Linked DNA regions of Homo sapiens: all the other regions are linked to region 2. Evidence: promoter capture Hi-C in human tissues and cell types (Jung and others, 2019). All regions are on one chromosome and are shown on one strand. Each heading gives the region's core, a stretch centred on a gene start or on the middle of the fragment in contact. The rest is flanking DNA. Distances are from core to core; before and after follow the strand shown.

What was found. Contacts are between HindIII fragments. The study calls those that stand out against the background at their distance.
Region 1: a contact is called between a fragment that was not itself captured here and the fragment with the promoter of SLC6A18 in region 2, in 1 of the 25 tissues and cell types used here (spleen).
Region 3: a contact is called between a fragment that was not itself captured here and the fragment with the promoter of SLC6A18 in region 2, in 1 of the 25 tissues and cell types used here (spleen).

What each region holds. Positions count from the first base shown.
Region 1 is chr5:1,266,202-1,269,949 of GRCh38, reverse strand. It overlaps TERT (telomerase reverse transcriptase), which reads left to right. Exons shown (of 16, transcript NM_198253.3): 9 at 1,317-1,430; 10 at 3,415-3,486. Among named protein-coding and RNA genes, the nearest start is that of TERT, 27 kb to the left of the region's middle. The HindIII fragment of the contact is 5,877 bases long and covers 1-3,748 here.
Region 2 is chr5:1,223,082-1,227,271 of GRCh38, reverse strand. SLC6A18 (solute carrier family 6 member 18) reads right to left here and starts at 1,891. Exons shown (of 12, transcript NM_182632.3): 1 at 1,635-1,891. The coding sequence starts at 1,794. SLC6A19 (solute carrier family 6 member 19) reads right to left here. Exons shown (of 12, transcript NM_001003841.3): 12 at 2,161-4,190. RefSeq lists an enhancer at 955-1,497. The HindIII fragment of the contact is 11,488 bases long and covers 1-4,190 here.
Region 3 is chr5:1,180,380-1,184,097 of GRCh38, reverse strand. LOC124900189 reads left to right here and starts at 1,251. Exons shown (of 8, transcript XM_047417960.1): 1 at 1,251-1,455. The HindIII fragment of the contact is 9,122 bases long and covers 1-3,718 here.

The sequences.
Region 1 (3,748 bases), core at 290-2,789, 43 kb before region 2:
TGACTGCGTCCTCATGCCCTGACAGACAGGAGGTGACTGTGTCTGTCCTGTCCCTAGGACACGGACAGGCCCGAAGCTCTAGTCCCCATCGTGGTCCAGTTTGGCCTCTGAATAAAAACGTCTTCAAAACCTGTTGCCCCAAAAACTAAGAACAGAGAGAGTTTCCCATCCCATGTGCTCACAGGGGCGTATCTGCTTGCGTTGACTCGCTGGGCTGGCCGGACTCCTAGAGTTGGTGCGTGTGCTTCTGTGCAAAAAGTGCAGTCCTCTTGCCCATCACTGTGATATCTGCACCAGCAAGGAAAGCCTCTTTTCTTTTCTTTCTTTTTTTTTTTTTGAGACGGAACGTCACTGTTGTCTGCCTGGGCTTGAGTGCAGTGGCGCGATCTCAACTCACTGCAACCTCCGCCTCCCGGGTTCCAGCATTTCTCCTGCCTCAGCCTCCCGAGCAGCTGAGATTACAGGCACCCACCCCCTGCGCCTGGCTAATTTTTGTATTTTTAGTAGAGAGGGGTTTTTGCCATGTTGGCCAGGCTGGTCTCGAACTCCTGACCTCAGGTGATCCACCCACCTCGGCCTCCCAAAGTGCTGGGATTACAGGTGTGAGCCATCACGCCCAGCCGGAAAGCCTCTTTTTAAGGTGACCACCTATAGCGCTTCCCGAAAATAACAGGTCTTGTTTTTGCAGTAGGCTGCAAGCGTCTCTTAGCAACAGGAGTGGCGTCCTGTGGGCTCTGGGGATGGCTGAGGGTCGCGTGGCAGCCATGCCTTCTGTGTGCACCTTTAGGTTCCACGGGGCTATTCTGCTCTCACTGTTTGTCTGAAAACGCACCCTTGGCATCCTTGTTTGGAGAGTTTCTGCTTCTCGTTGGTCATGCTGAAACTAGGGGCAAGGTTGTATCCGTTGGCGCGCAGCGGCTACATGTAGGGTCATGAGTCTTTCACCGTGGACAAATTCCTTGAAAAAAAAAAAAGGAGTCCGGTTAAGCATTCATTCCGGGTCAAGTGTCTGGTTCTGTGAATAAACTCTAAGATTTAAGAAACCTTAATGAAAGAAAACCTTGATGATTCAGAGCAAGGATGTGGTCACACCTGTGGCTGGATCTGTTTCAGCCGCCCCAGTGCATGGTGAGAGTGGGGAGCAGGGATTGTTTGTTCAGAGGTCTCATCTGGTATGTTTCTGAGGTGTTTGCCGGCTGAATGGTAGACGTGTCGTTTGTGTGTATGAGGTTCTGTGTCTGTGTGTGGCTCGGTTTGAGTGTACGCATGTCCAGCACATGCCCTGCCCGTCTCTCACCTGTGTCTTCCCGCCCCAGGTCCTACGTCCAGTGCCAGGGGATCCCGCAGGGCTCCATCCTCTCCACGCTGCTCTGCAGCCTGTGCTACGGCGACATGGAGAACAAGCTGTTTGCGGGGATTCGGCGGGACGGGTGAGGCCTCCTCTTCCCCAGGGGGGCTTGGGTGGGGGTTGATTTGCTTTTGATGCATTCAGTGTTAATATTCCTGGTGCTCTGGAGACCATGACTGCTCTGTCTTGAGGAACCAGACAAGGTTGCAGCCCCTTCTTGGTATGAAGCCGCACGGGAGGGGTTGCACAGCCTGAGGACTGCGGGCTCCACGCAGGCTCTGTCCAGCGGCCATGTCCAGAGGCCTCAGGGCTCAGCAGGCGGGAGGGCCGCTGCCCTGCATGATGAGCATGTGAATTCAACACCGAGGAAGCACACCAGCTTCTGTCACGTCACCCAGGTTCCGTTAGGGTCCTTGGGGAGATGGGGCTGGTGCAGCCTGAGGCCCCACATCTCCCAGCAGGCCCTCGACAGGTGGCCTGGACTGGGCGCCTCTTCAGCCCATTGCCCATCCCACTTGCATGGGGTCTACACCCAAGGACGCACACACCTAAATATCGTGCCAACCTAATGTGGTTCAACTCAGCTGGCTTTTATTGACAGCAGTTACTTTTTTTTTTTTAATACTTTAAGTTCTAGGGTACATGTGCACGACGTGCAGGTTAGTTACATATGTATACATGTGCCATGTTGGTGTGCTGCACCCATTAACTCATCATTTACATTAGGTATATCTCCTAATGCTATCCCTCCCCACTCCCCCCATCCCATGACAGGCCCTGGTGTGTGATGTTCCCCACCCTGTGTCCAAGTGTTCTCATTGTTCAGTTCCCACCTGTGAGTGAGAACATGTGGTGTTTGGTTTTCTTTCCTTGCAATAGTTTGCTCAGAGTGATGGTTTCCAGCTTCGTCCATGTCCCTACAAAGGACATGAACTCATCCTTTTTTATGACTGCATAGTATTCCGTGGTGTATATGTGCCACATTTTCTTAATCCAGTCTATCATCGATGGACATTTGGGTTGGTTGCAAGTCTTTGCTACTGTGAATAGTGCCGCAATAAACATACGTGTGCATGTGTCTTTATAGCAGCATGATTTATAATCCTTTGGGTATATACCCAGTAATGGGATGGCTGGGTCAAATGGTATTTCTAGTTCTAGATCCTTGAGGAATCACCACACTGTCTTCCACAATGGTTGAACTAGTTTACACTCCCACCAACAGTGTAAAAGTGTTCTGGTGCTGGAGAGGATGTGGACAGCAGTTATTTTTTTATGAAAATAGTATCACTGAACAAGCAGACAGTTAGTGAAGGATGCGTCAGGAAGCCTGCAGGCCACACAGCCATTTCTCTCGAAGACTCCGGGTTTTTCCTGTGCATCTTTTGAAACTCTAGCTCCAATTATAGCATGTACAGTGGATCAAGGTTCTTCTTCATTAAGGTTCAAGTTCTAGATTGAAATAAGTTTATGTAACAGAAACAAAAATTTCTTGTACACACAACTTGCTCTGGGATTTGGAGGAAAGTGTCCTCGAGCTGGCGGCACACTGGTCAGCCCTCTGGGACAGGATACCTCTGGCCCATGGTCATGGGGCGCTGGGCTTGGGCCTGAGGGTCACACAGTGCACCATGCCCAGCTTCCTGTGGATAGGATCTGGGTCTCGGATCATGCTGAGGACCACAGCTGCCATGCTGGTAAAGGGCACCACGTGGCTCAGAGGGGGCGAGGTTCCCAGCCCCAGCTTTCTTACCGTCTTCAGTTATTTTTCCCTAAGAGTCTGAGAAGTGGGGCCGCGCCTGATGGCCTTCGTTCGTCTTCAGCTGGCACAGAATTGCACAAGCTGATGGTAAACACTGAGTACTTATAATGAATGAGGAATTGCTGTAGCAGTTAACTGTAGAGAGCTCGTCTGTTGGAAAGAAATTTAAGTTTTTCATTTAACCGCTTTGGAGAATGTTACTTTATTTATGGCTGTGTAAATTGTTTGACATTCAGTCCCTCGTAGACAGATACTACGTAAAAAGTGTAAAGTTAACCTTGCTGTGTATTTTCCCTTATTTTAGGCTGCTCCTGCGTTTGGTGGATGATTTCTTGTTGGTGACACCTCACCTCACCCACGCGAAAACCTTCCTCAGGTGAGGCCCGTGCCGTGTGTCTGTGGGGACCTCCACAGCCTGTGGGCTTTGCAGTTGAGCCCCCCGTGTCCTGCCCCTGGCACCGCAGCGTTGTCTCTGCCAAGTCCTCTCTCTCTGCCGGTGCTGGATCCGCAAGAGCAGAGGCGCTTGGCCGTGCACCCAGGCCTGGGGGCGCAGGGGCACCTTCGGGAGGGAGTGGGTACCGTGCAGGCCCTGGTCCTGCAGAGACGCACCCAGGTTACACACGTGGTGAGTGCAGGCG
Region 2 (4,190 bases), core at 642-3,141:
CGTGGAGCAGCTGAGTTTAAGGGAGGCTAGTGCCAGACACTTCCAGTACACTGCAGGCGCTTAGCAATGGTAACTGGGTTTCGGTGGGCAAGGCATCGGCGGGCAAGGCATCGGCGGGCAAGTCATCGGCGGGCAAGGCATCGACGGGCAAGGCGTCGGCGGGCAAGGCGTCGGCGGGCAAGGCGTCGGCGGGCAAGGGGTCGGCGGGCAAGGTGTCGGCGGGCAAGGCGTCGGCGGGCAAGGCGTTGGGCGCGTCGGCGGGCAAGGCATCGGTGGGCAAGGCATCGGTGGGCAAGGCGTCGGTGGGCAAGGCGTTGGGCAAGGCATCAGCAGGAAAGGCATCGGTGGGCAAGGCATTGGCGAACAAGGCGTTGGTGGGTAAAGCGTTGGCCGGCATTTCCAGCTCTGCGTGAAGCCTGCTGCCCCCACAACCTTGCATGCTCTGGTGACTCTTAGCAGATCGAGCCGCAGCACAGGCAGCGAGGGCCCCGGGAGCCAGGGACGCCTCTGCCCTTGGGCTTTGGTGCTTTCAGAAATGCCTTCAAAGGGACTCTCATGATGAGAAGATCCAAGGCCCAATGCACCCTCTCCAGCCCCAAAGCCCCAAAGAGACCCCAGTGCCCCGAGGGTGGCAGTGACGGGTGTTTCTTTTTGTTTTTTCCATTTGTGCGCATTTCCTGCATTTTCTGCCTGTTGAGAATCTTTTCTTAAGCAGGAGGAAAAACACTTTAAAGGAGTAACCTTATAACAAGGGATAGTTGTGCGGGGCTCTCAGGGAAGGAGCTGAGGGCCCGGGGAACAGGCTGACCAAGCAGCCCGGCCTGGCCTGAGGAGGACCCTGCGGCCTGGGAAGCCCCTGCCCGTGTTGCCTGGGGAAGACCTGGGTGTCCATGCGTGATGTTGTACGTCGGCTCCCTGAGAGCAGTGATTCATGCCTGTCCCTACATCCTGTGTCGCCACATGGAGAGCAGAGTGTGACCCCTGCATGAAGAGAAGCAGGCACAGGGTGAGGGGAGGCTCGAGGTGCGTGGGAGCCTATTTCAGTCACCAATGCACTTCTGGGGGTGGTGAGTCCAAGGTCACTAAAGTCACCCAGACAGTTCTGAACATCCTGGCACCCCCCACAGGGCTCTCCCAGAGAACCAAAGCCAGGGAGGCGAGGGGTGGGCCCCCAAATTCCTGCAAAGAACCTCGGAGAAGGGCACCTGAGCACATGTCTGGACACACCAAGGCTGTGGTGAGGAAACCCAGAGCGGATTGTGTGTTCTTTAAAGAACTGACGACATTCAGATGGAAGAGCGCTCACTGTTTGTAGGGTGTGTGTGTCGGGCAGGGCGGCCCATTCAACCTGACGCCTGGCAGGAAGCTGCCCTGAGGTCCCGGAAGACCATAGTGGACCCCGAGGGGACTGGATCCTCCGTGCTGTGGGCAGTGGTGAAGCTGCCCTGAGGTCCCAGAAGACTGCAGGTGGGCCCTGAGGGGACTGACTCTGCCGTGGGCAATGGTGCACCCTGGTTTCCAGGAGGAGTGACTCTGCCCAAGCACTGGGGATGCGTGGCAGGCGCCTGGCAGGTCAGGGTGGAGACGGCCTCCCCTGCTTAGGGGTCTGCCCCAGGACGCAGGTGGGTGCTTACCTCCTCCATAGGTCTGGCACAGGTATGGGAACCGCCAAATGTTCCCCAGTCCCACGGCAAACCCAGTGCAGCTCAGGAGGTACTGGGCCTTGTTGTCCCACTTGGGCCTCTCATCCCCGAGGTCGCAGGCGGCCGGGTCCGGTTCTGGGGCATGAGCCATGGTGACTGAGTGCCCCAGGCTTCAGGGCAAGGGTGGTGCCTCACTCCACACCCAGCACTAGAGAGCCGTCTCCAGCCTCTGCCGACGTTTGGAAACCACAAGCAGCCCCACTGCAGTTGTATTTATTCATTTCTTTAAAGGAAAACCAGTGGAGTGCCGTTAATGGGTAACTCAGGTCCAGGCCCTGGCTCTGACGCCAGGGTCCTTCCCTGGCACCCACGTCCTCTGCTCCTTCTCGCATGCTCTGTGTTCCAGGCAAACGCCGGGCCTGGCACCACCCCCAGCACCATGAGGACCGTTTGCAAGGACAGCCTCAAGTTTTTTTGTTGCAGACACCAGGATTCCCAAGACTGAGGCATATTTTAATCGTTTTAAATTTCTTATGTTTTATTTAACCATTTGATCTTGAGATACTTATAGATTGTCACTCTGTCACTGTCAGAAACAACTCAGATCAGATCGCATGCACCCGAAGCCCGGATTCCCGCAGGGATCCTCTCAGCTGCTCTTGGGAGGCCGGGGGCTGCCCTCACACCCACTGCTGCCCTCGGGCCGCTGGGCAGGACAGGGTGACAGGCACCCACCGTGCGTGGGGGCAGAGGGCTGAGTCCTCTCCTGTGCTGGGGGCACCCCTGTCCATGGGTGGAGGGTTGATGAGTTGACGCCGGGTGAGTTCAGCTCTAAGGAGCTCCCCACAGTGCTCCCTGGACTCTGGGGCTCCTCCTTGCAGATGCTCCCGCCACGGACAGGCCAAGGGCCCCCAGGCCCGCAATTGCCCCATTCCACTGGACACTGCACCCCTCAACCGTGTGGCCACAACTCCAAATCCATGAGTCCCAGGGCAGGGGCCCAGGTGGACACATTTTTGGAAGGTTCTTATTTGAGTGAGAGGAAGTGTGAGGGAAGAAGATGAGAAGAGCTGGTTGGTCCCCATTGTGAGGCCACAGGCCTGGGCCATGGCCTCTTCGGAGCAAGCCCCCAAAGCCAGACCCCCCAGGAGGAGGCAGGAGCTGGACCTGCCGTCCCCACCATCCCGTCTGAGGTCACTGGCTCACTCATCCCTCTACGTCTGGACAACAGTAACTTCTAGGGTGAGCATACTCAATAGAAGGGATTTATTTAGAAATGTACACTTTATGCCCATAAAGCCTGCATTTCTACCACATTTACAGAGACATTGAAACCTATGAAACAACGCATGAATCAGGAGATGTAGATGAGATGGGAGCTCCCGCCCAGGGTCCTATGGCAGGCACACCAGGGTACACCAATGGATGCCAGGGCACATCAGTGCACACCTGTGCATGCCAGGGTACACCAATGCACACCTGTGCACGCCTGGCAGGGCCTCCTGGGCAGATGCCACAGGGCAGCATATTAATGGGGCACTGATGGAAATTTTCTCGATCCAGGGCCAAAGAGCAGGAAAAGATGAGGTGAGACCCTGTTGAAGCCATCAGCAGGCGAGCCCCTCGGTGGCATCACAGCCGGGGGCAGAGGCTGTGATATGTCCCCCCACCTCTGCTGCTGTGGAGTCTTGCGCATCCCAGGGCCCAGTGACAGTCAGCAGGGTGAAAGGGGCTGGTAGGGGACTCAGTGTGTGCAGTCACTGCTGGATGGGGTGCTGGAAGGGACGATTGTGACCAGGTTTCTGTGGGTGGAACATCATACTGGCACACACCAGGCTTTCAGTCCTGCCTGTAGGAATTCTCAGAACATCAGTTTAATGTAAGCGTCCAGATTCTTCTATGGAAAGCAGAGGTGACCTGTCCGTAGGAACTCTCAGAACACCAGTTTAATGTAAGCATCCAGATTCTTCCATGCAAAGCGGAGGTGACCTGTCCGTAGGAACTCTCAGAACACCAGTTTAATGTAAGCATCCAGATTCTTCCGTGCAAAGCGGAGGTGACCTGTCCGTGGAAGCAGATGTCCCAAGTGCCGACTGCCTTTGGCTGCGATGGAATGTTGAACCCCAATGGGGGCCCATCCCGTGACGGGGGCAGGGCAGGCGCCAGGCTGGGCTTCACTGAGTGGTGCGGGAGCTGGAAGCTTCTGGGGGCTGCACGGTCCTCCAAGGTGCCCTGGACACACACAGTGCCCAAGGATGGCAGCCAGGGTTGAGTTACCCTGTAACCCATCTTTTCCAAAGGCTGGCTAAAAATTCACACAGCTCATGTCCTCTTAAGAAAATGCACAGAGTGGTATTTGCCTTGAATTATGCCAAGTTGAGTTTTATTTAACTGCTCATCTATTTGTGGTGGCAGGAGCAATGATTAAATGGCTGGCATTCATTAAGCCGGGAAGCGGCCAGAACGCAGAGACTCGGCAGCGGCCGACTGGAGGCAGGGCCCCGGTGGATGCGGCCAAGTTTTCTCAGAATCGCCAGCAACTGCCCA
Region 3 (3,718 bases), core at 355-2,854, 43 kb after region 2:
CTGGGTGCTCCTCCTGCCCCACCCCAGGGCCGTGTGCACCCAGCCCTTCATCATCTCCACGCCCTGATGTGCAGAACCCTTGGTGGCCCTGGCTGGGCCTGCCCATGGCTCTCCAGCCTTGCCAGCCTATCGGGAGCCTGGGGCTGCGCCCGGGGTGGGGACAGGGGCTCCCCATTTAGCAGCCCAGACTGGAAGCCTTAGGTGGAGGTGGAGCACACACCGCTGGCCAGAGGGGGTCTGCTGCCCTGGAAAGGGTTGGGGGAGAAGTGAGCTCCCCTTACGTCTCCTATTTCCCCCTCATGCCCCTTCTTGCCCCTCCCTCACCCCCTGCAGCAGCCCCTGAGGGGTCTCAGAGCTTGAAAACCAAGCAAGGAGGAGCTTCGCTGTTACCCAAAGGCCGCTGGCCCTGCCCCTTCCTGCCTCTGCCCAGCCCTGACCACGGAGCCACCTGCTCTCCCCCTCTTCCCTGGGGCCGGCCCTGGTGTCCTCCAGGCCTTACTGAGCACAGTGCCGGGTGCTGGGTTCTGGGTGCCGGGTGCCGGGTGCTGGATGCTGCATGTGGTTTACCCCATTCCTGCCCCACCCCCGTCCAGGGCTCCTGGGGATTTTGTCCTCCTGTCCAGGTGAGGGGCATCCCCGGCCCAGCATCTGTGCATCTGGAGTCTGCACCCTGGCCTCAGAGCTGGCCTTGGTATCTTTATGGAGCTGCCCCATGTAATGACAGCGGACTGCCGGGAACAAAGCCTGACTTGTCTACAGAGCCTGTGCTGCTGCTGACAGCAAGGAGCGTTATTAAAAACCCTTTTGTCTCTGCCCCTTCTGCGGGCTCATTGACCTTCACGGGCCAAGCAAGGCACTTTGCAGCTGTATTTTGAAATGGAAGTGCTTCCAAGGAAACATTGTTTGGGGGAACATTTTTAGCAGGTGAACGAAACTCACAGTTCACCAATAGCAATCACGCCGGAGACGTTTCTCACTGTGCCCCACAGCCTCTCTGGGGCGAGCAGGCCTGGCGACAGGACACACGTCTCTGGGAGCCGGGTTTATTGGAGCCAGCGTGGACTCCCTGGGCACCCTCCCCCCAGCAGCTGTCTGCAGGAGCTGCGAGCTGCTAGCTGCGCTATCACAAATGTTAAAATGTAACTCCTCTTTGCTTTTCCTCAACCAACAGCAGCGCAGCCGAGCAAAGGTGAACTGTGTGGTGTTGATAATCTAATCGGGAGCACAGGGCCTCCCCGGGTGGGTGCCCCATTCCGATCCGCTGCCCCTGAGAGGTGGGCCTTGGGAGAGGCAGGGCTTGGACGCCCTTCCTCGGGGCAGCGGGGTGCAGGGAGAGTTCTTCTGGCTGTGAGTCCCGGAGTCCCCGACCCTGGCACCCCTTCAGCAAGGTTCTCAGGCACATCTGCCGGGGGCGCTGAGGGGACCTGAGATGGACGGGCCGGGAGGGAGGCTGAGGTAAGACCTGAGGCTGAGGTAAGACCTCAGCCTGAGGTAAGACACAGTGCTGGGGCCTCCCTTGAAGCCCGTTTGAAGTGAGGTCCCCACAGCTGTCAGAGGACACGCAGGGTGGGGGCTCCTGGGTGGGAAACAGGTAAACCTCTTGGGCGCCTGGGGCTGGAGGCCTGAGTGGTCCTGAAAAGAACATTCAGGCCAGGCGCAGTGGCTCACACCTGTAATCCCAGCACTTTCGGGGGCTGAGGCGGGTGGATCACAAGGTCAAGAGATCGAGACCATCCTGGCCAACATGGTGAAACCCCGTCTCTACTAAAGACACAAAAGCTAGCTGCATGTGGTGGCGCACGCCTGTAGTCCCAGCTCCTCTTAGGGAGGCTGAGGCAGGAGAATCACTTGGACCCAGGAGGCGGAGGTTGCAGTGAGCTGAGATTGCGCCACTGCACTCCAGCCTGGCGACACAGCGAGACTCTGTCTCAAAAATAAATAAATAAATAAATAAAAAGAAAAGAAAAGAACATTTAGTGAAAGGAGCAAGGAAGAGAAGGCATTCTGGGCAGACCCCGGCCCCCAGGGCACAGGCGTGCAGTGTTTCCCTTCCAGGGTTTGGTGGACACTTGGAGGGACCAGGTCGGGGTGTGGCCTGGGAGGGGTGGCCAAGGTCCAGGGGTCAGGGTCACTTCGGGGAAGTCCAAGGGGCAGCGCGGAGCCACCGCTGTGGACATGGGAGGAGCCTACTAGCCAGCATGGCCCAAAGGAAGGAGGGGCTGAGGGTCAGAGGTCATGGGAGAGAAGAGGGAGTGGGGCAGACCCTCTCCCAAGGCCATGGGGTGGGGGAGAAACAGCGCCTTAGGGCCTGTCCTGATCCTCCTCCAGAGCCTGCTCAGAGTGGGAGCAGCCCCTCCTCCCTTCCCCTCCACCACCCAGGCGCAGGTGCGGCCTCTCCCTGGCCCGGGGACCTGCGTGAGGTCAGCCCTCAAAGCGCTGTCCCTTCTGGCTCACCTGGGCCCAGGGTGAGGCCCGACCCCACGGTGGACCCTGAGTCACTGCAGCTTCTGTGCCCAGCTCAGGAACAGAGCAGCCTTCAAGGCCAGGACTGGGGAGGGGCTCGGCTTTTCCGGCCCTTGGACGCCACTCAACTCTTCCTGCCCGTGTGTTGGCAAAGAACTAGCACGGCCTCTGAAGCACTGAAAAGACAAGGGCTACCTCTTTTCCAGAAGGTCCCAGAGCCCACCATGAGCAGGCAGTGTTTGGGAAAAGCCCGGGGAGGTGGCAGGGGCTCCGAGGAGCGGGGGATTCTAAGGGGTTATAGCTGCGCTGAGCCCCGGGCTCCTCAGAAGCCTCAGAAGGAGAAGGGGGCTCCTTTGGGGGCATCCTCCCTGCATCCGGGGTGTTGCAGGGTGACCTCCCGTAGTGCCAGCAGGGGCGGCCCCTCGGTCTGGCCAGAGAAGCCCAGCCACTGTCCCGTATGGTGGATGTCAGGCCCAGTGCCGTGTTTCCGAAGGAGGGAAGGGGTGAGAGGCAGCAGCCAGACACCCCGCTGAGCCCGCCCCGACCCTGAGCACGTGGGAGCTGGAGACGGTGTCACACACTCGGCCTGGCTTTGGGACCATCCCTAGGGCTTCTGTGGGGAGGAGGAAGGAGGAGCAGACGTGGAAGGGCTGCCAGGGCCCCAGCAGATGGGGTCGGGGGCGGAGGAGAGCCAGGAAAGTGTGGGCGCCTGGGGGAGTCACAGATGGAGGTCTGGTACCTAGAGCCTGGAGAACGACGGCTCTCGGGACAGAGGGCCTCAGACTCTGGCACACCAGCCGTACCTATGACAAGCTCCATGGGGGAAGAACCAGGCACCTGGATGCATGGCTGTGAGGCCCCCACCCCACAGGGGCCTCAGAGGCACAGGCTCCAGGCTCCAGCGGGGAGGGCGCTGCATCCCACCCTGGGAGCATGGCTATGAGGCCCCCACCCCACAGGGGACCCAGAGGCACAGGCTCCAGGCTCCAGCGGGAAGGGCCCTGCTCCCCACCCCCATCCCCCGCCTCAGGCTTCACTGAGATGGGCCCCGGGGACCCCGGGAGCTTTCTGTGACTGCTCGGCAATGGGTTCCCCAAGGCCTGGCACAGGCTTTCCTTAGAGCCAGGCTGTGGACCCAAAGCCTTGGGCCAAGTCTCAGGACCAGATGGGCGGCTCTGGAGAGGACCCCACAGTCCAGGGTGAGGCGCGCCCCGCTGGGGGCAGCGCTGCCTGTGGAGAGGACCCCACAGTCCAG